Regions from separate parts of the Homo sapiens genome. Here all the other regions are linked to region 1. The links are contacts of gene promoters, found by promoter capture Hi-C in blood cells and fetal thymus (Javierre and others, 2016). All regions are on one chromosome and are shown on one strand. Each heading gives the region's core, a stretch centred on a gene start or on the middle of the fragment in contact. The rest is flanking DNA. Distances are from core to core; before and after follow the strand shown.

What was found. Contacts are between HindIII fragments. The CHiCAGO score rates a contact against its expected background, and 5 or more counts as called.
Region 2: a contact is called between a fragment that was not itself captured here and the fragment with the promoter of GBP4 in region 1, in 1 of 17 cell types (activated CD4 T cells). The highest score is 5.1, in activated CD4 T cells.
Region 3: a fragment that was not itself captured here is called in contact with the fragment with the promoter of GBP4 in region 1 in 4 of 17 cell types (activated CD4 T cells, M1 macrophages, total CD8 T cells and 1 more); the score reaches 7.7 in activated CD4 T cells.
Region 4: a fragment that was not itself captured here is called in contact with the fragment with the promoter of GBP4 in region 1 in 4 of 17 cell types (activated CD4 T cells, M1 macrophages, total CD8 T cells and 1 more); the score reaches 7.9 in activated CD4 T cells.
Region 5: a fragment that was not itself captured here is called in contact with the fragment with the promoter of GBP4 in region 1 in 2 of 17 cell types (naive CD4 T cells and naive CD8 T cells); the score reaches 5.5 in naive CD4 T cells.
Region 6: a contact is called between a fragment that was not itself captured here and the fragment with the promoter of GBP4 in region 1, in 4 of 17 cell types (activated CD4 T cells, naive CD8 T cells, monocytes and 1 more). The highest score is 8.1, in activated CD4 T cells.
Region 7: a contact is called between a fragment that was not itself captured here and the fragment with the promoter of GBP4 in region 1, in 5 of 17 cell types (activated CD4 T cells, non-activated CD4 T cells, naive B cells and 2 more). The highest score is 6.6, in activated CD4 T cells.

Annotation. Positions count from the first base shown.
Region 1 is chr1:89,197,245-89,200,773 of GRCh38, forward strand. GBP4 (guanylate binding protein 4) reads right to left here and starts at 1,698. Exons shown (of 11, transcript NM_052941.5): 1 at 1,551-1,698; 2 at 1-60. The coding sequence starts at 1,590. It overlaps LOC107985076 (a long non-coding RNA gene), which reads left to right and starts at 1,103. Exons shown (of 3, transcript XR_002958332.2): 1 at 1,103-1,164; 2 at 1,259-1,814. RefSeq lists a silencer at 1,502-1,796. The HindIII fragment of the contact is 3,654 bases long and covers 1,532-3,529 here.
Region 2 is chr1:89,442,184-89,445,712 of GRCh38, forward strand. No RefSeq gene overlaps it. Among named protein-coding and RNA genes, the nearest start is that of GBP6, 80 kb to the left of the region's middle. The HindIII fragment of the contact is 1,940 bases long and covers 583-2,522 here.
Region 3 is chr1:89,425,928-89,429,456 of GRCh38, forward strand. No RefSeq gene overlaps it. Among named protein-coding and RNA genes, the nearest start is that of GBP6, 64 kb to the left of the region's middle. The HindIII fragment of the contact is 865 bases long and covers 1,130-1,994 here.
Region 4 is chr1:89,404,926-89,408,454 of GRCh38, forward strand. It overlaps the pseudogene GBP1P1. Among named protein-coding and RNA genes, the nearest start is that of GBP6, 43 kb to the left of the region's middle. The HindIII fragment of the contact is 277 bases long and covers 1,781-2,057 here.
Region 5 is chr1:89,004,972-89,008,500 of GRCh38, forward strand. It overlaps GBP3 (guanylate binding protein 3), which reads right to left. Exons shown (of 11, transcript NM_018284.3): 11 at 1,709-2,881. The coding sequence ends at 2,753. Among named protein-coding and RNA genes, the nearest start is that of RBMXL1, 14 kb to the left of the region's middle. The HindIII fragment of the contact is 5,370 bases long and covers 1-3,529 here.
Region 6 is chr1:89,381,791-89,385,319 of GRCh38, forward strand. GBP6 (guanylate binding protein family member 6) reads left to right here. Exons shown (of 11, transcript NM_198460.3): 7 at 1-184; 8 at 874-1,086; 9 at 1,862-1,964; 10 at 2,303-2,496; 11 at 3,440-3,529. Among named protein-coding and RNA genes, the nearest start is that of GBP6, 19 kb to the left of the region's middle. The HindIII fragment of the contact is 8,356 bases long and covers 1-3,529 here.
Region 7 is chr1:89,026,658-89,030,186 of GRCh38, forward strand. No RefSeq gene overlaps it. Among named protein-coding and RNA genes, the nearest start is that of GBP3, 5.6 kb to the left of the region's middle. The HindIII fragment of the contact is 5,231 bases long and covers 1-3,529 here.

The DNA of each region.
Region 1 (3,529 bases), core at 448-2,947:
CTTCCTGGTTTTCCACTAGACAAATGGGGGCCATCATGATGGATTCAGATTCTGGATAACCTGTAACCCAGAAAAAAATACTCAGTAGAATACAAGATCTTGAAGTCATCCCTAAGGGCTACCTAAGGCACATACATATTAGCTTTTTGCTTGTGGAATGGTATATAAAATTTCTACATTTTAATGGTATATAAATATATTTCTACGTTTAATGGTATATAAAATTTCTATGTATATAAAATTTGTACATTTCAAATGGAAAAATATTTAGTTTAGCATGTCAAAGACTAGTACAGATCTGTTATGTACATTATTTATGATTCTTACAAGAACGCTAAAAATGCCTTGTCAAGGTGATGCATAAAATAAACAGAATTAGAAAATCAAGGCACTGATGGCAGAATAATTCCACTCCTGGAATAAATAGGGGCAGGATGTTACAAAAAGGAGATGAGGAGTGGTTAGAAAAGGCTCCAGGCATTCCAGAAGAATTTGCTCTCTCATTAATTTAATAAAGAGTATTGCGTACCTACCATGTGCTAATTAACACCGTTCTAGATTCTCAGCAACAAGCAAGGAACATAATTGATACAAACTTCTGCCTCTTGGAGCTCTATTTGTTGTAACCCAGCGAGTTACAGAGAAACGCCACACTCTGAGACGAATTCAGGAGTCCTTTATTAGCCGGCGACCGAGAGACGGCTAGTGCTCAAAATTCTCTCGGCCCGAAGAAGGGGCTAGATTTTCTTCTATACTTTGGTTTAGAAAGGAGAGGTTGGGGGGAGGGGTCTAGTTAAAACAATCCTACAGAAGTAAAGTAGGCAAAAAGTTAAAAGGATAAATGGTTACAGGAAAGTAAACAGTACTAGGTGCAGGGGCTTTAATTCTATCACAAGGTGATAGAAGCGGGGCTTTGGGCTTTATCAACCAGACACAAACGCGGGGGGCTCTGGGTGCTGTTAACCGGGCGAATTCCTGGGAACTGCGGGTATGGCTTGCCACAGTACCTTATCAGTTAATTGCATTCTTGGATGTGCTGGGAGTCAGCTTGCACAAGTTAAGTCCCTGAGGAAGCGGGTGGGTAAGGGGCTGCAAGTGAAGGAGCCGAGATGCAGACTGTCTGGCTCTTTCAGCTAAGGGAGAGTCAACTCAGGTTAAAACAAGGTAGGGTATCACATATTCTAGTGGGGGACAGAAAATTAATAAAACAAACAAGCAAAAAATGTGTATATGTATACTAGATGATGGTATTTCGCAGGAGAAAATGCCACAGCTCTGGGAGGAAGCCCGAGGAGGAGCAGCGCATCCTGGAGACACCGGTGCGCCTCTGGTCGCCGCCTGTGGACCGTCTAGAGACGCTGGGCCACACGGAGCAAAGCACTCAGGGGTTCAAGCAGCATCAGACTTCCCCGCGAGGTTCCTCCACTGCCTTTGTCACCCGCCAGTGTGAAGTCTCCAACCCTCCCCGTGTGCAGTCTGCGCTTGGGAATTTGTTGTTGTTTGTTATAACCCAAATATACTTGAAAGGTAAAGCTTAAGAGCAAACTTACCTGGTGTGGGCACTGCAGCGTGAAGAGTTCTCTCACCCATTGCTCTGTCCTCCTGCGCCTGGATCCTCGAGAAACGGACTGTTCTTAGAAGCTGAAAGTCCAGCCGGATTTACAGACATCCAAGTAAGAGTCTGTGAGAACCGAAATTGAAAGGACATGCACTTTGTGGGGAGTTGACTGTTGGGGATTTTCCTGTTTATCAAGACAGGAAACTAAAGGAGCTTGAAAGTGCTGGTTCCTCCACACCAGACTCCTGAAACTCAGGTTTGTTTGTCCCTCTTCCACCCTTAGCTTAGGTATCTTTCGCCTCCAAAATGAATATAGAGCAGCAGACATGAATGTTGTTTCATCTACCTGTCTCTCAGGGGTAATTTTGTCAGGGAAGAAATTTGAGTTTTTGTTTGCTTTTATTTTTTTTTACATGCTTATATGTTTCTGTTTCTCATCTCTTTTCTTTATTTTTTCATTAACCATAAAATATGTGTGTGTTTGTGTGTGTGTCTATGGATATCTATGTATCCTCTAACGTTGTTGCCCAGAGGTGCGGTGGTGGCAAGTAAATACTTCTCTTTCAAAACACAAACATCTCATTGAAACTGGATCTTTTGGAGGACAGGAGGATGATTGGACCATAAAAAGCATAATTTATAATTAGGAGTCTTACCCAGGCTACCAGAAAAATGGACTCAGTTCCTAAAATGACTAGCCAGTTTGTTAACAGAGTTTGGGAAATCTATCTGAAATAAATGGGTAATGATTCCCCATTTGTGCCTATCCCTTAGATCTTCCTATTTGTTTAGTAATGTCTGATTAAACATTTGCAAATTAATAAGTACAAAATTTTAGGCACTTAATCAGGTAAAATTACTGGTGCCGATTTTGATTCAAAACTTAACATTTATTTCCTATAAGCAATATTGAAAGTGAAAATAAAGCTAAGTCAAGTTTTAAATAGGACCAGTAATAAGAAATCAGGTGCTTTTTTCTCTTACCATTTTTTAATGTCAGGAAGTCCCTCTCTCTTAAAAAAAAAAAAAAAGAAGAAGAAGAAAAAGTACAGGGATGACTGAATCCAGGTAAATGTGTTTGAAACACCTGAATTTCACCAGTGGCACCCCTTTCCAGATAATCCAATGTTACTGACTTCAGATAATCATGGAAATGTTAATCAAGAAGAAATTTAGGCTGGGTGTGGTGGCTCACTCCTGCAATCCAACCATTTTGGGAGGCCAAGGTGGGCAGATCACTTGAGTCCAGGAATTGGAAACCAGCCTGGGCAATATGGGGAAACCCCATCTCTACAAATAATAATAATAATAAATTAGCTGGGCATAATGGCATGTGCCTGTTATAATAGTCCTAGTTACCTGGGAGTCTGAGGTGGGAGGATGACCTGAGCCCAGGAGGTCAAGGCTGCAATGAGCCATGGTGGTCCCACTGCACTCCAACCTGGGCAACAGAGTGAGATACTGTCTCAAAAAAAATTGTTAATTCACAGTTGTATGTATAATGATTGCACATAGCAATATGTCTATGCACATAGAAAATATACATAGCAATATGTCTGTGTTACACAGATAAAAGTCTATAAGTGTTCCCCCAACCACTACCTCCTTAAAATTAGTACTTCTAGCTCAGGTGATTTTTTTAAAATGTCTTTCTGAATTATATGAATTTTTAAAGACTTTTTTTATAATCACAGATATGCACACACATACTCATAAAAAGGAAATAACTTTTATTTTGATAAAAAGACTCTGAACATTTTTTGAATATTTTTCCATATCAGATTTTGAGCTTCTTATTTATACATTTTTTGAATATTTAAAGTGCAATGTCTATATGTTTTTGTATTTTGTGGTTAACTTGTAATTCATTTACAAGATGTATCAAATAAAACAGTTTTTTGAAATGAGGGTGTTTTACTGGCTCACTGATTTTGGAAGGAAACTGGAGGAAATGAGTTGCAGATGTTTTTA
Region 2 (3,529 bases), core at 303-2,802, 240 kb after region 1:
AGCCTGATCCAACTCTATGTTCCTTCCACCATTATCCCATACCCTTAATAACAATTCCTATGGCTGTTCTCCAGATTTTTGTTTATATAAATTAGAAAACTCAAGCAGTTCTTTTCGAGTGTAGCACACCTCCTCATGGGTCACAATCCCAACTTCACGTGTAGGGGCCTGCCAGGACTTTAACCTAGTTATAGGTCTGGAAGCAAACAGGTGTGTTGGGAGAGGCTCCTGAGGAGAATCAACATTATCTTGCCTGGCAACTGCCTCACGGAAGGCCATCACTGTTGCCTCAGGCAGCACAAGGTTCATCTCCTTAGACAAATGTGGAAAGGCTGATAGCAGCATGGGTTCGGGAAGGGATGTTGCCACTACTGGGGATGGGGAAGCTGTTTCTTCTGGCAAAAATGTTTCATCAGTGTTTACAAATTCAGTGTCTCCAGCTTCATCAGGGTTCACCCACATGTCCCCATTCCAAGTTGCAGGCTCCCATTCTTTTCCAATCAATGACCTCACTTTAACAATAGACACCTCATGAGGCTGTGCATGCACCTTTCATTGCAGGTCAGCCACTTGCATGATAAAAGCTTTGTCTGTTTTTCCACAGTTTCAGCTCTTTCTTTATAGGAGATAACTCTCTTACTCAGGGCAGTCTTAGCAGATTTGAGGCTCAGTATCTGCTTCTGAATCCAGGAGACAGAAGCCTTGAATTTATCATTTACTTTCATCACTTTGTCCACTAAACTTAGGAGCAACTAACCAGCTTCATTATGTTCCATGGTTCTCCACAAATGGTCAAAGTTATTATGCATAGAATCACTAAACTCCTTGCCTCTCATAAGGAATGAATCAGGAGTATCAAATGCATTTATTTTGCATAACTCTCTAAACAGTTCATGCCAAGGACTATCAGTGTTCTCCATACTATTAGAAGTAGAGTCCTTAGCATTTTGGGGTCTAATCATATTAAGCAGCCAACTCCAGAAACCTCAAAACCAAAACAGAACTCCATCCTTAATATTCTGTTCCTTTAGAACCACTCCTAGTACCAAAATCTGTATTAGTCAGGGTTCTCTAGAGGGACAGAACTAATAGGATGGATATGCATATGAAGGGGAGTTTATAAAGGAGTATTAAATTCACACAATCACAAGGTTCCACAATAGGCCATCTGCAAGCTGAGCAGCAAGGAAGCCAGTCAAACTTCCAAAGCTGAAAAACTTAAAGTCTGATGTTCAAGGGCAGGAAGCACCCAGCACAGGAGAAAGATGTAGGCTGGGAGCCTAGGCCAGTCTAATCTTTTAACATTTTTCTGCCTGCTTTATACTTAGGCCATTCTGGCAGCTGATTAGATGGTATCCACCAGATTAACAGTGGGTCTGCCTTTCCCAGCCCACTGACTCAAATGTTAATCCCCCTTGACAACACCCTCACAGCCACACCCAGGATCAATACTTTGCATTCTTCAGTCCAATCAAGGTGACAGTCAGTGTTAACCATCACAATAAGTATAGCTATTCCTGCTCTTTTTTGGTTTCCATTAGCATGGAATATCTTCTTCTACTTCTTTATTCTCATTCTATGTGTGTCTTTGTAGGTGAAGTATGTTTCTTGTAGGCAATAGGCAACAGATCATCGGGTTTTGTTTTGTTTTTTTGTTTGTTTGTTTTTTTGAGACAGAGTTTCACTCTTGTTGCCCAGGCTAGAGTGCAGTGGCACAATCTTGGCTCACTGCAACCTCCACCTTCCAGTTTCAAGCAATTCTCCCGCCTCAGCCTCTGGAGTAGCTGGGATTACAGGCACCTGCTACCACACCTAGCTAATTTTTGTATTTTTAGTAGAGATAAGGTTTCACCACGTAGGCCAGGCTGGTCTCGAACTCCTGACCTCATGATCCACCAGCCTTGGCCTTCCAAAGTCCTGGGATTTCAGGCGTGAGCCACCACGCCTGGCCTGGGTCTTTCATTTTTTTATTTTTTTGAGACGGAGTTTCACTCTGTTGCCCAGGCTGGAGTGCAGTGCCGCGATCTCCACTCACTGAAAGCTCCGCCTCCCGGGTTCACGCCATTCTCCTGCCTCAGCCTCCCAAGTAGCTGGGACTACAGGCACCTGCCACCACACCCGGCTAATTTTTTGTATTTTTAGTAGAGATTGGGTTTCACCGTGTTAGCCAGGATGGTCTCGATCTCCTGACCTCGTGATCTGCCTGCCTTGGCCTCCCAAAGTGCTGGGATTACAGGCATAAGCCACCACGCTCAGCCCGGTTCTTTTTTTTTTTTTTTTTTAAATCCATTCAGGCACTCTTTCTTTTGATTGGATAGTTTAGTCCATTTACATTCAATGTTACTAATAAGTAAGGACCTACTCCTGCATTTTGTTATTTTTTTCTGGTTGTTTTGTAGTCTTTTCTTTTCTTCCTTAGATTATTACTGTCTTCCTTTTACTGAAATTGATTTTCTCTGATGGTACAATTTAATTTCTTGTTCTTTACTTTTTGTGTATCCATTGTATATTTTTTTGATTTAAGCTTACTATAAGGCTTGCTAGTACTAGCTTATAACCCATTATTTTAAATTGATGACTACTTAACACTAATTGCATAAACAAAGAAGCAAAAAGAAAACTAATAAAAACTCTACACTTTATCTCCCCACTTTGTAACTTTTGTTGTTTCTCTTAATGTCTTAGTATACTATCTATGTCTTGAATAATTGTTGTAGTTCTTATTTTTTATTGGTAATATCCTGTGTTTTTCTGTATACCTCATATTACTAGTGAGTTTTGTAACATCAGACAATTTCTTATTGCTCAATAACATCCTTTTCTTTCAGATTGAAGAACTCCCTTTAGCATTTCTTGTAGGACAGGTCTGATGTTGGTGAAATCTCTCAGCTTTTGTTTCTTTGGGAAAGTTTGTATTTCTCCTTCATGCTTGAAGGATATTTTTACTGGAGATACTAATTTGGGTAAAAGTATTTTTTTTCCCTCAGCACTTTAAATATGTCATGCCACTCTCTCTTAGCCTACAAGATTTCCAATGAAAAGATTTCCACTGAAAAGTCTGCTGACTGAGGTATTGGAGCTCTACTGTACATTGTTTCTTTTCTCTTGCTTCTTTTAGGATTCTTTCTTTATCTTTGTCCTTTGGGAGTTTGATTATTAAGTACCTTGAGGTAGTATTGTTTGGACTAAATCTTCTTGGTGTTCTATAATCTTCTTGTACTTGAATTTGATATTTTTCTCTAGGTTTGGAAAGTTCTTAAATATTATCCCTTTAAATAAACTTTCTACTCCTATCTCTTTCTCTACCTCCTCTTTAAGGCCAATAACTCAGATGTGCCTCTTTGAAGCTATTTTCTAGATTTAGTAAGCATGCTTCATTCTTTGGCATTATTTTTTCCTGTGTCTCCTCTGGCTGTGTATTTTCAAATAATATGTCTTCAAGCTCACTCATTCTTCTGTTTGATCAGTTCTGCTATTAAGAGATTCTGATACATTCTTCAGTATATCAATTGCATTTTTCTTCAACTCT
Region 3 (3,529 bases), core at 312-2,811, 230 kb after region 1:
CTGAAACTCTCTCTTAGCTAAAGGATTCGCAGGAGAAGAAATCACTGAGCCTGGATGCCCAAGCAAAAGTATAATGAAAATTAAGGCTAGAGAAAAGTTTAAGAGAAAATTAAATAACAAATCATTGAATGTGGAAACCAGATAGAATATTTCAATTTTCCCGATGCCACACTTTATTCAGCCTCCGTTTGTCCCTCTTTAGGAACAAGAGCGACTACTAAAAGAGAGATTTGAAAACGTAAGCAGAAGAATCCAAAATGAGATACAGAATCTCCAGAGGACAATGATACAACCAAGGACATGTACCATAAACTAAAGACCAGAGCCTTCCTGTCACCCCTACCCAAGGCATAATTGAAACAATTTTAGAATTTGGAACAAGCGACACTACATTTGATAATAATTAGATCTTGCATCATAACACCAAAATTTATAAAGGCATGCAGTACAATGATCAAAATCATGTTTTTTCCAAAAAAAAAAAGACTGTAAATTGTGCAAAAAAGATGCATTTACCTCTGTACCAACTCAGGAAGGTTCATGAGCTGGTACCACCCAGGAGTTTATTCTTCCAGATGACCAGCAGTAGACAAATGGGTACTGAGCAGAGTCTTAGGTAAAAGTCTTGGGAAATATTTGGGCATTGGTCTGGCCAAGTCTACAATGTCCCAATATCAAGGACAACCACCCTGGCTTCTTAGTGAAGACAATGTACAGTTATCCATTAGATCAGGGCTACACAGTCTATGAGCAATAATGTGATTTGTGGACATTGCCCATGTATTGTCCTCACTGATGATTTCAAGCTAAAGCAAACCACCTTATACAGAGATCTAGAATCCCTTTATGTTCTCCAGAGGTAGGTGGAAGAAACCATGAGCAGGAGCAGGAATTGAGTGATAAACAAATGGGCTAAAGAAGAAAACTTTTCTTCTTGTTCAGTTCATCCAGATTATAACTTTAATGGGACACTTTAGACCATTAGACAGTTGACACTGGATTAAACAAAGTCACATAATGCCAATTACACACTGTATTTATGGCAATGTATAATTTGCAAAGATTGACTTTAAAAGATGCTGTGTAACAGAATTGAATTAATTCAATTACTTATTATTTAGAATGCTAAAGCTTATGCTAGTCTTTTCTAATTCTTAACACTCATACTTGAAATCTTGCTGAGTTTCCCCAGAAGAGAATATCGGATGTTTTTTGACATTTTTGACCCATTTAATAATGTTCTTGTGTTTACTTAGTATACATAGACTTTATCTCATGTGTCAAAAGTCCTAGGAAAGTGGTTGATGTTTCTTATAGCAATTAAAAATTATTTCTGAACTGTAAATACAATGTATTTCACTAGGCTTCTTATTTCTGATTAAGTTTTCTTTTTGCAGTTATTTTTGTCAGAAAAGAAGGTTTTAGTCTTTATAGCAATGGTTGGCAATCTTTTCTGAAAATACCAGATAGTAACTATTTATGACTTCGCAGGTCATACAGTCTGTCTCAAGTACTCAGCTCTGCATGTAGTGCAAATGCAGCCATAGAAAATACATAAACCAATAGGTGTGGCTATGTTCCAATCAATTTTTATTTTCAATAACAGGGTGGCACCCATAAGCCATAGTTTGCAGAACTCTGATTTACAGACACATTGGTCAAAGTTTTATATACCGGCCTTGTGTAACTCACACGTACAAAAATCATATGGATTAGATTATATATATTAGAATCTTGAAAAAACTATGTGGTTATTCAAAATAACACAGTGAGAAAAAAGGAGGGAAGCAGTTAATGCCATTAAATCCACATTAATAATTCTGTCTTTTCTAATTGCTTTGAGGCCTTTTATTACCTTGAGCTACCTCTGATCCAATCACATGGCAAATGCCTCCTTTCATAATAGAGCATGGTGCTGTTTCCTCACTTGAACTGAAACTTCATAGAAGACCAGGTGAGACCACAGAATACTAGATGAAATGTTCATGTAGGTAAGCTTTATATTTTCTTCCAAGCTCCATTGCTACAAAGGTGTAAATAAAATACATTTTTATGAGTTGAAGTAACTTCATGGTAGAAAATAATAACTCTGCCTTCAAAAGCAAATAATGGTTTCTTTGTTAACCAATAAAGCATAAGAAAATGAAAAATCAGCAAAACTGAGTTACTTCCTCCCCAGTTTGGTAGCATTAATATTTAGACCACATTCCAAAGCATCTGACTTGGTTTAGTACTTTTCTCTAGCATATGCCAGAATAGAATCAAGCTCTCTCCAGGGAGGCATGTTGCTTTCCTGCCCTTAGACCCTCCAATGGTGTGCAAGTGTGCAGGCTATGGTGAGTGGGGCCAGGAAATCACCAGGCCCCTGGATGGCATGCTTGGGTCCCAGTGGCAGGTGACCTGGGCCTGCTGTCAGACTTCCTGATGTTGCATGCACATGCCCACAGCTACAGTTGAGGCAGCATGATCCCCAGGCCCTGGGCAGCATGTTTGCATGGTGGGTGGTGTGAGAGCCTGTCCTCAGGACACAGAACAGTGTCTGGGTAGACCAGCTCCAGGACCATTGGAGGCACATGCAGATGCTTGGTGGCCCTGCTTCCGGTGGAAGGTTGAGAGGGTTGCTGTTGGTGGCAGTGGCCCCAGGCAAGTGGCTTTCAGAAACTGAGGAGTGTGCATTTAGGCTCCCTTTGTCCTGGGGGCAGCCTCCCTGGTGTGGTGCACTGCTGTTCCTTACTGCACCACTGGATTCAGCCCACGGGACAAAGTTGCAGCCCTCTGGGTGGAAATGAAGAGATGTCCGCAGGGTTCCAGGGACGTGGAGATGATGGGGCTGTTCGCCCCAGAGCAAGATACAGTCTGATGGGGGCTGGGCTTTCAAAATAGTGCTGCACGGCAGCTCCTTGAGTCTTGGGAGTGTCAGTTACCTAAACCAATGCAGGCCGTTTGCCTGATTGCAATGGAAAGCCAAACAAGGAAGCACAAGGATTTTTTAGAGGGAAAGGTTTATTTTTAGTCGACTAGGAAGTAGATGGGAGAAATGTTCAAATTTGTCTCTCAGATCTGGGGGTTGGGGCAGGTTTTATAGACAGCGGATAATGAGGTAAGATCTGACTGCATCGTGCCATGAGGTGATGTCAGGGCTGGATGTGATCAGATCACAGATTAAGCCCTGAGGTGTCTCCTTCTTAAATCAGCCCTGCTCCTTGGTCCAAGTACTTAGGTTCCACCGTGGTTGCATGCCAAGTGTATCTAGGCATACTCAGGTAACATAACCTGAAACCAGGTGTCCATGGCAACTGTAAAACAACGCATTATTTTATTACACAAACTTGAACCACACTGGGCTGGTTCTGCAGTTTCAAGTCCCCTTTTTTTGGTTTTTCATTTCTCAATCTTGTGGGAGAATGGGCGACAAGCACTCTAGCACTTCCGGCTGATTGGGGCACAGACCTTGGTTAGAGGAATAAAATTGTTTAGCACGGTGTTGTACGACTTCCCTGATATCAAGGTAATGTTTCAGAAGGAGTTG
Region 4 (3,529 bases), core at 669-3,168, 210 kb after region 1:
TACTTGAGGAGGCAGTCTGTCCTTTAGCAGAGCTCAAGCATTGTGCTGGGAGAATCCTCCTCATCAGGATCAACTGCTCTCTTCAGAGCTGGTAGGCAGTAACATTTAAATCTGCTGAAGCTGTGCCCACAGCCACCCCTTCCCTCAGGTCTCTGTCCCAGGGGGATGGGAGTTTTATCTATAAGCCCCTGACTGGGGCTGCTGCCTTTCCTTCAGAGATGCTCTGCCCAGTGAGGAGGAATCTAGAGAGGCAGTCTGGCCACAGCTGCTTTGCAGTGCTCTGTTGAGTTCCACCCAGTCCAAACTTCCCAGCCTCCTTAGCACTGTCAGGAGAAAACCGCCTACTCAAACCTCAGTAATGGTGGACGACCCTCCCCCAACCAGGTTCAATTGTCCCAGGTCAACTTCAGACTGCTGTGCTGGCAGTGAGAATTTCAAGCCAGTGTTTCTTAGCTTGCTGGGCTCCGTAGGAGTGGGACCCGCTGAGCAAGACAACTTGGCTCCCTGGCTTCAGCCCCCTTTCCATGAGAATGAATGATTCTGTCTTGCTGGGATTCCACCACTAGGGGAAAAAAAAAAATTCCTGCAGCCAGCTCGGTGTCTTCTCAAACAGCTGCCCAGTTTTGTGCTTGAAACCCCAGGGTCCTGGTGGTATAGGCACGAGGGAATATCCTGGTCTGCAGATTGCAAAAACCACACGGAAAAGCGTAGTATCTGGGTGGGTAGCACAGTCCCTCAGGGCTCCCCTTGGCTGGGGGAGGGAGGTCCCTGGCTCCTTGCACTTCGCAGGTGAGTCAATGCCCCACCCTGCTTCTGCTCGCTCTCTGTGAGCTGCACCACTGCCTAACCAGTCTCAATGAGATGAACAGGGTACCTCAGTCGGAAATGCAGAAGACTACACCCACTGCCTAACCAGTCCCAATGAGATGAACAGGGTACCTCAGTTGGAAACACAGAAATCACTTGCCTTCTGCATTGGTCTCACTGGTAGCTGCAGACCGGAGCTATTCCTATTCAGCCATCGTGCCAGATCTAAGACATGTTAAGCATTTTTTTATATACTTGTTAGCCAGTTGTATCTCTTCTTTTGAGAAATGTCTATTCAGATATTTTGCCCATTTTTTAATAAGAGTATTTGTTTGTTTGTTTTTGAGTTGAGACTCTTGTATATTCTGAACATTAGTCCTTTGTAAGTTGAATAGCTTGCAAATACATTATCCCATTACGCAGGATGACTCTCCATTCTGTTGGTTTTTTTCCTTTGCTGCACAAAAGCCTTTTAATTTAACAGTCTCATTTGTCTATTTTTGCTTTTGTTGAGTGTGCTATTGAAGTTTTACCCATCAAATTGTTGCCTGGACAGATGTCTGCAAGTGTTTTCCCTATGTTTTCCTCCAGTAGTTTTATTGTTTGGGGTCTTACATTTAAATACTTAATCCATTCTGAATTGATATATGGCATATTAATATCCACGTTTCCCAGCACCAATTGTAAACATACATTCCCCAATGTATATTACTGGTCTCTGTGTCAAAAATGAGGCAACTTAAAATATGTGAATTTATTTCTGAATTCTCTATTCTGTTCCATTGGTCTATGTGTCTGTTTTTACTGTCAGGTCATTTTTTATAAAACTAAAACTCAACCCACTTCACATAAGTGACATGAAAGGAAATTCTTCATGGGTAAAAGTTTGAAGTCTTCCAATGTGCAATCTTGGGCTACATATTTCAGTGTTCAGTGCTCCACTCTTCCACTCCTCTCCAGGCCTTTGCTTTTAAGCTTTGAGTGCAAGTCATTCTTACCCTCTAGAGTAAGTCCAGTTAAGGGCAGTGGCTGTGTTTAATTCATCTTCATACACTTCTCAGCACCTAGTACAGTGCTGTGCATGCAGTATATTTGCTCTCTATACACACATGTACAGATGGTTGATTGTTTTTCTAGCTTGCAGGTCTTGCTTCCATTTGATATGAGACTCAGTAACCCCAGCTGAATCACTGAATCCCTCTTGCTATGAACTCTACAGCCGGCTGCATAGAGCTCTTTGTGTGAAAATAAGCTTATTATCAAAACATTCCACACCTGAAATTCAGTCTGTTCATTGGATGCTAATATCAAGACAATCTTTGAAATCACTAGGCATATACACATTAATTATTGCATCATGTAATAATACTAAATTGTGAATTAATTTTATCTGTGACTATCTACTAGAAGGATTCCATAGACTGCAAACCAAGTGAACTGAAAAGTGAGGAAATGATGCTTCCTCATCCCCACCATCTAAATGAAAAATTCCCTACTTATTTTTTTCCAGCTGTCTGACTTTTTATGTCAGACAATGTGTTAAATATGCCCTTTCCTTATTTACCGCACCTCTAAAAGAATAGGCAGCTCCATTGTGAGTGTGTCTATTATTTTAGGAAATTATAGCTGAAAATTAACATGATGCCTCCTCATTCTAGGATTCTCAAACTGACTCAATCCATGAGACATGTATCATTGTATTCAAAACCTAATGGGCATTTTGTTAGACAACAAATGGTCTCTAAGATTTCCAACAAAAAACTTTGAAGCTTCTGGTTGAGCAATCATTAAACCCTCCCACTGGCACACTCCAGTAATTTCATTTATGGTAGTGGACTTGAATGAAGTACTTTCAGTTTCATATTACTCTAAATCCATTACAAATATGCTTAACCTTTAAATATTTCATCACTGAAGAAATCCCAGCCCTACAACGTTGGAACAGTAAAATATTAGTCCAAGGATCCAGTGAGAGACACAGAAGTGCTAGAAGCCACTCCTCATGAACTAAGGAGAAAAAGAACAGGTAAGAACTTTTACTACTTCTCATTAAGCAGCTTTCTCTTTAGCTCCAAAGGATCTCAGCTCAGGGATATGGAACCCATAAGGTTGTGGCAGGGATGGGAAGGAATTTATAAAGGTCAGTTCATTTTCTTAAACATCGTCAGAACCAAATTAGGCTGCAGATGAGCCTGAAGTGGGACGCAGGTCAGATGAAATCCTGGTGTTATCAGGGACAGCATGGCCTTAAGTGACACTACAGTGTTTGTGTTGAATTAGGCACCAGTAGACAGGGGCTAAACTGAGAGTTTGAAATGCACTAGGATAGTCTTTCTCTTTGTTGTCATTCTCTGTGTTGACTGGAGACATGATTACATTTCCATTATCAGTGATGGAGCTTGCTGAATCCTGCTCCTATGCAGCTAAGAAATGGAAAGAGCTACAAATGGGTTCTTTTCATAAGGAAAGAACAGCAAATGAGAAGCAGAGTAATCAGCCCACTGACATGGTTAAAGACAAAGAAAAAACTGAAACTCAGCCTGAAAGATGAAGATTCATGAAAACAGTATACTTTTTATTACACTTGTGAACTTCGTTTCAGAATGGATTACTTTCTTTAGAAATAGTCCAGACTCACTAATTTCCTAGTGCCCACTGATCCCTGTCCCTTAGAAGTGAAATTCAACCCCACTGCTTCACTAAAGTGCTTCCAATTTTGTCT
Region 5 (3,529 bases), core at 448-2,947, 190 kb before region 1:
AATCCCTGTCCTGTTCTGTTCCGTTCCGTTCTAATTACCAGTGCATGTAGCCCGCAGTCATGTACCCCCTGCTTGCTCAATCAATCACGACCCTCTCACGTGGACCCCCTTAGAGTTGTGAGCCCTTAAAAGGGACAGGAATTGCTCACTCAGGGAGCTCGGTTGTTGGAGACGTGAGTCTTACCAAAGCTCCTGGCTGAATAAAGCCCTTCCTTCTTTAACTCAGTGTCTGAGGGGTTTTGTTGGTGGCTTGTCCTCCTACAATACCAGTGCCTGTTCCAGTGGAGGTGGTGGAGGGTGAAATGGACTTCATGAGGGTCCTTGGTTTTGGTGGTTTAATGCTCTATTTTTGTGCTGGTTGGCCTCCTGAAAGGAGGTGGCACTTTCCAGAAAGTATCAGTGGGAGAGGGACTGGTGGTGGGCAGGGTCCTAGAACTCCCAAGATTAAATGACCTTTGTCTTCAGCTACCAGGGTGGATGGAGAAGGACCATCAGGTCAGGGCGGGGCTAGGAGTGTCTGAGCTCAGACTCTCCATGGCTGGATCTTGCTATGGCTGCTGTGGGGGATGGGGGTGAGATTCCCAGGTCACTGGAGTTGTGTACCTAGGAGGATTATGGCTGCCTCTCCTGAGTCATGCAGGTTGTCAGGGGAGTGGGAGAAGCTGGCAGTCACAGGCCTCACCCAGCTCCGATGCAAACTGGAAGGCCGGTCTCACTCCCACTGTGCCCTTCTCCCTGCCAACAGCTCTGAGTCTGTTTCCAGGCAGAGGGCAAGAGGGGCGGGCTTAAAATTTGGCTGAGGCTTTCTGCTCAGCCAAAAAGAAAAGGACTTTAGTTCTTCACCAGCCTGTGAAGTTTGCATGCTGGATTTGTGCCCTCCCCGAGTTCTGGCAGGAGGCTTCTCGCCCCATTCAAATTGTTACAAAGTTTGGTTGGAGAATTTCTTCTTTCTGTGGAGTTTTACCTGTTGCTCCTCTGGCTGACCTCCCGATAGATCCCTGTGGTGCCAGGCAGGAATGGCCTGCCTGGGGACACAGTGAGCTCCCAGGGCCTTCCAACTGCTTCCTCTACCCCTGTATTTTGCTCGGCTCTCTAACTTGACTCAGCTTCAGGTAAAGTCGGAAACTCCTCCTGCACACAAACCTTCAGCTTCTCCAGTGGGGGTGTGTGTTCCAGAGAGGAGGGTCTCCCTTTCCCACTTCTGCAGTTGGGGCAGTCAGAATATTTGGAGTGTTTCCTGGGTCCTGCAGGAGCAGTCTGCCTCCTTCAGAGGGTCTGTGGGTCCTCTTGGGATTCATCGTGTAATATTTTGAAACACTACATAATTATTTCAAGATTCTAACATATACAATCTAATCCTTATGATTCTTATAAATGTAAGTAAAATAAGGCAGATATAAAATGAAACTTTGACCAATGTTTCTATAAACAAAGGTCTGCAAACTATAGCTTGTGTGTGCCACCTGGTTTTGAAAATTAAGTGTTATTGGCACATAGCCCCACCCATTTACTTATGTATTGTCTATGGCTGCATTTGTACTGTATGCAGAGTTTAGTAGTTGAGACAGTTGACCTGCAAAGCCATAAATAATCACTATCTGGTATTTTACAGAAAAGTTAGCCAACCACTGCTATAAAGACTCAAACCTTATTATTTGGTGAAAAACTAAAAAAAAAAAAATGGAAATAAAAAAACTAGTGAAACTTATTTTATTTCTAGTTTAGTTTATTTCTAGTTCAAAAATAATCTGTAATTGCTGTAAGAAATGTCAACCACTTACCTAGGATGTTTGACAATTGGGATGAAGTCTACATATACTAAGTAATGGCAAGACAATTATTTTATTGCTCAAAAGAAAGTCAAAAAAATTCCATATTCCCTTTGGGGAAAATTGGCAGGATTTCAAGTATGACCTTTAAGAATCAGGAAAAGACTAACTTATGCTTTAGGATTAAAACAATCAAATAATTAAATTAGTTCAATTTTCTAACATAGTCTCTATCTTCAGTTAAAGTGCATCATTGCATGTTATACATTACTAAAATTACACAGTGCATAATTGTTACCATGTGACTATTTAATTCAGGGTCAACTGTCTAAAGGTCTCAGGTGTCACATTAAGGTTATAATCTAGATGAATTGAACAAGAAAGAAAAGATTTCTTCATTAGCCAATTTGTTTATGATTCAATTCCTACTCTTGCTAATGATTTCTTTACCTTCCTATGGAAAATATAAGATTCTAGATCTCTGTATAAGATGGTTTGCTTTAGCTTGAGATCCATCAGTGAGAATTATCCATGGGCAATGTCCAGAAATCACATTATTGCTCATAGACCTTGTAGCCTTGATATAATGGAGAACTGTACACTGTCTTCCCTAGGAAGCTAGGATGGTTGTTTCTGATATTGGGACCCATTGTACACTTGGCCAAACCAGTGCCCAAATATGTCCCAAGATTTTTACCTAAGACTTTCCTCAGTATCCACTGGTCGTCTGGAAGAATAAACTTCTGAGTGGTGGCAACTCATGATCCCTCCTCTGTTGGTACAGAGGTAAATGCATCTTTGTTGCACAATTTACAATCTTTTTAAGGAAAAAACATGATTTTGATCATTGAACTGCATGTTCTTGTAAACTTTTAGTGTTATGATGCAAGATCTAATTATTATCAAATATAGTGACACTTGTTCCAAATTCTAAAATTGTTTCAGTTATGCCTTGGGTTAGGATGACAGAAAAGCTCTGTTGTTTAGATCTTTAGCTTATGCGACATATATCTCTTGGTTTTTTTTTTCAGGGTCTTCTGTAGCTTTTGTATCTCATTTTGAAGTTGGGTACTTTCACCTTGGCATCTCTCCTTTAGTACTCGGGCCTGTTCCTAAAAAGGGACAAATGGAGGCTAAATAAGTGTAGCATTAAGTAAATCTCTGTAAGCTATCTAGTTTCCACATGCATTGATTTATTTAGTACTTAGTTTTTTTCTTGAAATTTTCTCTACCCTTGATTTTAATTATAGTTTTTCTGGGCATTTGGGCTGTGTGATTATTTCTCCTGGGTTTTCTATAGCCAAAAGAGTTTCAGCGTATGCCTTCTGCTCTATTGATGAAGGTCTTGCTTTTTTCCCCCTATTAATTATACAAAACCTTTGTGGGAAATCTTAACAATATATTTGACTTCAAATCTTCCCTATGCATTATAGACTTTTTAACACACCTACCTACACACATATTATTATTATATACACATAATACAGAGATAAGTTACTCTCAAAATCTGATTAGGTATATGAATCTTAGATCAGGAAATTTGATCTAAGTCTCTACTCCCTGTTGGCAGGGGTAGCAGAAGATAGGCAAGGAAATCCGAGTGCCAGACTTACCATATAGAATTTCTGCACATAGCTCCCAACTCAACACAAACTGTGAGTAGGGCACAGAAAACAGGCAGGAGTGGTAGACTGCCCTACAGGTGTGAGGGTTAGGGAGTCCTTCTGCTCATAAAAGTTCTCTTAGAGCCAAAGTCATAC
Region 6 (3,529 bases), core at 286-2,785, 180 kb after region 1:
CTCAGCGGCCGTGCAGAGGGCAGCTGACTACTACAGCCAGCAGATGGCCCAGCGAGTGAAGCTCCCCACAGACACGCTCCAGGAGCTGCTGGACATGCATGCGGCCTGTGAGAGGGAAGCCATTGCAATCTTCATGGAGCACTCCTTCAAGGATGAAAATCAGGAATTCCAGAAGAAGTTCATGGTAATTTGCCTTAGTCATTACTGTTCATCATCCTTCCCCTTGAAGAATGAAGCCTATAGTTGCCTTTATTGTCACCAATGCTCATCTGTCACTGAGGAATAACTTATTGTGGATTCTCATGAGGGATAGAGTTTCAAAAGACTACATATAAGCACTTAACTAGAAAATCTTCTGATAACTGAGGTAAAATCAATACAGATCACTTAAGATCCTCAAGTGAACACTTCTAAGGATTCCAGGCCTGCTCTGAACACGCACAAGTCATCCCTGAGCAGTGCACTTTTTCTGTGCATAGTTTACCTTTCCCAGGAAACAAAGATTCTCTTACCAGATCGTAATTCCGGGCCATTGTTCAACTTACATTGCTCCTTCTTGTATCCTTGTACCATTGAGGACAGGAACACAGGATGATACCATTGCAACAAACCATAGAGATTATGGAATGTAGTCTCATCATGTCACAGATAAGGAACCTGAAGCTCAGGAAGATTAATGAACTTTTCCATAGCCTTGAAGAGAATTTCTAGCATTGTAAATGTATGAAGTTTTGTGTTTCTGATTCCACATCTACTCCACTAGAATGTTTTTCTCATGAGGACCACAGTTAGATTGACTCTACCACCAGATTCTTTAGAATTTCATCTCCTCCATGTTTCTTCTGGTGACATCTCTCTACATTTCCCTTGCAGGAAACCACAATGAATAAGAAGGGGGATTTCTTGCTGCAGAATGAAGAGTCATCTGTTCAATACTGCCAGGCTAAACTCAATGAGCTCTCAAAGGGACTAATGGAAAGTATCTCAGCAGGAAGTTTCTCTGTTCCTGGAGGGCACAAGCTCTACATGGAAACAAAGGAAAGGATTGAACAGGACTATTGGCAAGTTCCCAGGAAAGGAGTAAAGGTAAGGAATAAGGGGAGCATGGGGAAGTTTATAGGATAGAGTGAATGGAGTCTTCAGCACCAGCCGTGGGTAATAAGAGAGCAGAGGGATAGCATAACGCCTTAGCTTTCAATGTCCACTAATTAATATTTATTTCTTAGAATAAAAATTTTTATTCCAAAACAAAGAGTATAGTATTCAGAAATCCAGGAGAGACAGAATGAAAATTACCACCTAGGTGGTGGTAATAAACATAATAGTAGTAATAATACAACTAACTCACGAGCTGTTATTACCTACAGTATACTGTTAAATTCTTCCCCAGACATTTTAATTTCATCTTCCTAATGACTTTAAGAAGCACCTTTATTTGGAAATTTTACAGATCTGAACTTAGTACCCAAGGATGATTACATAACTTGCCTAAAGTTCTAGCCAGCAAGTGGCAGGAGAAAGCAACAGCATAGATTAGAGGCAGCATTGCACACTGGAAGACAGACATGTATAAGCATCAGAGATTGGGAGTTTGTACACCTGTGCACATAGTTCTGCCTGGCCGGAACCCAAAACGGGTACAGGGAGATATTACAGCAGTGGGAAAGGCACTGGAGGGAGACAGGAAGCAGGAATTGAGGAGGGGCTCTGGTCACCCTAAAGAGCCCGCACACTTTGTAGGGGGCCACTTTAGAATTTTAGGCATAAAGCAAAAGTTACAAGACCATAATTGTTCTTGCAACACTAATACCCAGAACATAGATTTTCAAAGAAATCTAAGTGCTTTTTCTTCCTTCCATAGGCAAAAGAGGTCTTCCAGAGGTTCCTGGAGTCACAGATGGTGATAGAGGAATCCATCTTGCAGTCAGATAAAGCCCTCACTGATAGAGAGAAGGCAGTAGCAGGTATGGGGCAGGGCTCAGCTTACACAGGAGGGGTACGTTTATACAATGCCCTCTAACAGATCTAACAGGAAAACCTTCCCAAAATGAGGAATTTCCTCTTCTGTGGAACACACACTCTGCTAAATCTTAAAATAACAAGGGGAGCTATGATTGTACATCAGCCAGACAGGCAGAGCCTTTCCCATCACATTCTCAAATGCGCTCTTAATGGTGTGGACCTGGGTGAATTCTGTGATTTCTCACCCTGCCTTTCAGATTTGGTTTAGTCTCAGCTCAGAAAAGTGGAGATGAATCTTCACCTATTATTTTCTTCTCTTTCTAATACCTTCATGGAGCAGTGGATCGGGCCAAGAAGGAGGCAGCTGAGAAGGAACAGGAACTTTTAAAACAGAAATTACAGGAGCAGCAGCAACAGATGGAGGCTCAAGATAAGAGTCGCAAGGAAAACATAGCCCAACTGAAGGAGAAGCTGCAGATGGAGAGAGAACACCTACTGAGAGAGCAGATTATGATGTTGGAGCACACGCAGAAGGTAAGTCTGCCCTTGGCCTCAGCAGGCCAGACGGTCCTCACCCAGGTACCTCAGGAAGGGCTGGTGAAGGTTACAGCAACATCATGAAAGGAAGCACATCACCATTTGCTGCTTGGCAATCACTAAAAGCCCTGAATCCTTTTTTTCTTAATTGTTTCAGTAAGACTTGGAATTCTTCTCTATATTCTCTATACTTAGATTCTGGAGAGGTAAGGTTGACTATGATCCCTACAAGTCCTTGGGGAATATAAATAGGGTCGAAGCTGCTGTTTTGGGAGATTTTAAAAGTAATCTCAAGAAGTTAAACATATGTTCCACACAGTGTATTTGATGTGAACAGCAGCTGGTTTCCTTCACCAAGACCACATATTACCAGGAGCTCTAGTACCATCCAAACACCCTGAGGTAGATCCATGCTGACATACAACTCTTAGAAATTTCCAGACTTAAAAGGACAGGAAAGGGACAGTTTCTAAACTTGCTGCAGTTGTCACCCTGTATAGGTAGCCTGCCCAAATTAGCACACAGTGTAGGGAGAATTCTTGCATTGTCCATCTGAAAGTTCTCTCATAAGGGATTTCTACATCAGCTTATAAGTTTTTGGTATTCCTACAATATGGGTGACCATGCTGCCCAACTGGGACTGAGAATTTATGCAATCAGACCAATGGCTACCTCCTAACTGGCATCTTTTGGGCAGGAACATGTAGAATTTGTCCTCATACCTAGGTTAGCACCATAGCAAAACCATAATGGTGGGTGGATATTAGTAAAGTTATAAACTATGCTTCCTCACAATGTCTAGGTCCAAATTCTCCTCTAATAACTGAGAAAATGTTTTTAGGAGTAAAATAAAGTTTCACACAGGTTTTAAATACAAAATGTAAGTCTTAAAAGAATAGGGATTTTTAAAAATTTACTTTCCTTCCTACATTGTCTTTAGGTCCAAAATGATTGGCTTCATGAAGGATTTAAGAAGAAGTATGAGGAGATGAATGCAGAGATAAGTCAATTTAAACGTATGATTGATACT
Region 7 (3,529 bases), core at 382-2,881, 170 kb before region 1:
AAAAACCATATAATCATCTCAATATACACAGGAAAAGCATTTGATAAAATTTGATACCGCTTCCTGATAAACACAGTCAACACACTGAGAACAAAAGGGAACATTCTCAACTTTATAATGTCCTATGAAGTTTTATTTTGATATAATTTTAGACTTCAGAAAAGTGGCAAAATAGTACAAAGTTTCTGTACAGTCTTCCCCTCAGTTCCCCATATGTTATCATTTTAAATTTATTTTCTTTCTGTCTGAACTATTCAAGGGTTAGTGACAGACATAATGGCTTTTTATACCTAAAAACTTCAGTGTGTGTTTCTTAAAAAAGAGAAATTATTTTACAGAGCCACAGTATATTTGTGTAAAGTCCTTCTTAGGCCATAGACTTTTTTTCTAGTTTTTTATTTATTTATTTTTTTATACTTCAACTCTTAAGTTCAGGGGTACATGTGCAGGATGTGCAGGTTTGTTACACAGGTAAATGTGTGCCATGGTGGTTTGCTGCACAGATCATCCCATCACCTAGGTATTAAGCCCAGCATACCTTAGCTACTCTTCGTAATGCTGTCCCTTCCCAAAATCCCACCCCAACAGGCCCCAGTGTGTATGTTCCTCACCATGTGTCCATGTGTTCTCATTATTCAGCTCCCACTTATAAGTGAGAACACAGGGTGTTTGGTTTTGTGTTTCTGTGTTAGTTTGCTGAGGATAATGGCTTCCAACTTCCATCTCCATCCATGACCCTGCAAAGGACATGATCTCGTTCCTTTTTATGGCTGCATAGTTAACAGCTGGAATTCTGTGTCTCCTTCTTGGAGGGAAAACAATATGTAACAGACTCTTTAGACCTGTTCTTGCAAGTGTAACATGGATATGTGTCCTTAAGAAGCAAATATTAGTAGTTAATATCTGAATTTCTCTGCCCATCTACTTTACTGGGAAATGATAGAAGGTTGATTCAGGATTGGTGGAATCCTTTGGTGTCATTCTTGAAGCTCTTTAAGGTGAGGGACTGGAGCACTCGGTGTTGGGACTACCTACTCGTGCATTTGTCCCTGAGATAATAAACACTATTCACAAATTTTAAAATGTTCAAACTATTATGAGATCTTGGTTGGCATATCCCAGAACTAAAAGTCTGCATATGGTGTTTAGTTGGTAAATAATATTTACAAGAACAGATTTATTTACAAGGCATGGTTTTCCAACTGAGTGAATATAGAAGAACTCTCAAAATATGTTAAAGACTCCACGGAGCATATGAAGGCTTGAGTTTTTTTAATTCAATGTAAATCAAATAAAAGCACTTACCAAAGTGTTGAAGAACATTTGTTATCATTTTGAATGAATAGTGGCAATTATTGTATTTTAATTGAGGCTTGGTCTACATGAGGTTATGATTGAAAGTGACATTCCTGGAATAATGGATATTTCATGAGAATCATGAAACTATTTGCTGAATTTGATTCATTTTTACATGACTATCTGGAAAAAAGCCAAAATCAAAAAAAGACAAATGTGTCATCTGTATTCAAAATAGAGTAGAATGAATTAATCAAAACAAAAAATATAAAAATATTTGGAAAAAAACCAGACCCCCAAATACTAGTCCAGTATTGTAAGTTTTTCATGAGATTGGACAAATACTAATCAATTAACGATTATTATGAGTTGAAGGTATTATAGAAAACCCTGAAAGTTTGTAAATGTTTTCATTTCTTGCCACCTGAAAACAATCTTTCTGTGAGAAAGTGGAATATACTCGTTCTGGATGTTTGCAACATTCTATTGGACAGTATTTGTGGACAGTAGTATAACTATATCATATGACAATATAGCTATTATGAAAAGTAAAGATAAAGGATTGCATGCACTTTTTAAATTATACTTTAAGTTAGAGGGTACATGTGCACAATGTGCAGGTTTGTTACATAGGTATACATGTGCCATGTTGGTTTGCTGCACCCATTAACTTGTCATTTACATTAGGTGTTTCTCCTAATGCTTTCCCTCCCCCTGCCCCCCACCCCACGACAGGCCCTGGTGTGTAATGTTCCCCACCCCATGTCCCAGTGTTCTCACTGTTCAATTCCCACCTATGAGTGAGAAAATGCAGTGTTAGATTTTCTGTCCTTGTGATAGTTTGCTTAGAATGATGGTTTCCAGCTTCATCCATATCCCTGCAAAGGACATGAACTCATCCTTTTTTATGGCTGCAAAGTATTCCATGGTGTATATGTGCCACATTTTCATAATCCAGTCTATCATAGATGGACATTTTGGTTGGTTCCAAGTCTTTGCTATTGTGAATAGTGCCGCAATAAACACATATGTGCATGTGTCTTTATAGTAGCATGATTTATAATCCTTTAGGTATATACCCAGTAAGGGGATGGCTGGGTCAAATGGTATTTCTAGTTCTAGATCCTTGAGGAATCACCATACTGTCTTCCACAATGGTTTATCTAGTTTACACTCCCACCAACAGTGTAAAAGCATTCCTATTTCTCCAATCCTCTCCAGCAACTGCTGTTTCCTGACTTTTTAGTGAACGCCTTTCTAACTGGTGTGAGATGGTATCTCATTGTGGTTTTGATTTGCATTTCTCTGATGACTAGTGATGATGAGCATTTTTTCATGTGTCGGCTGCAAAAATGTCTTCTTTTGAGACTTCTCTCAAAATAAGACATATCCTTTGCCCACTTTTTGATGTGGTTGTTTGTTTTTTTCTTGTAAATTTGTTTAAGTTCTTTGTAGATTCTGGGTATTAGCCATTTGTCAGATGGGTAGATTGCAAAAATGGTCTCCCATTCTGTAGGTTGCCTGTTCACTCTGATGGAAGTTTCTTCTGCTGTGCAGAAGCTCTTTAGTTTAATTAGATCCCATTTGTCAATTTTGGCTTTTGTTGCCGTTGCTTTTGGTGTTTTAGTCATGAAGTCCTTGTCCATGCCTATGTCCTGAATGGTATTGCCCAGGTTTTCTTCTAGGGCGTTTATGATTTTAGGTCTAACATTTAAGTCTTTAATCCATCTTGAATTAATTTTTGTATAAGATGTAAGGAAGGGATCCAGCTTCAGCTTTGTACACATGGCTAGCCAGTTTTCCCAGCACCATTTATTAATAGGGAATAAATAGGGAATCCTTTCCCCATTTCTTCTTTTTGTCAGGTTTGTCAAAGATCAGATAGTTCTAGATGTGTGGTGTTATTTCTGAGGCCTCTGTTCTGTTCCATTGGTCTGTATCTCTGTTTTGGTACCAGTACCATGCTGTTTTGGTTACTGTAGGCTTGTAGTATAGTTTGAATTCAGGTGGCATGATGCCTCCAGCTTTGTTCTTTTTGCTTAGGATTGCCTTGGCAATGTGGGCTCTTTTTTGGTTCCATGTGTAATTTAAAGTAGTTTTTTCCAATTCTGTGAAGAAAATCATTGGTAGCTTGATGGGGATGGCATGGAATCTATAAATTACCTTGGGCAGTATGGCCATTTTCATGATATTGATTCTTCCTATCCATGAGCATGAAATGTTCTTCCATTTG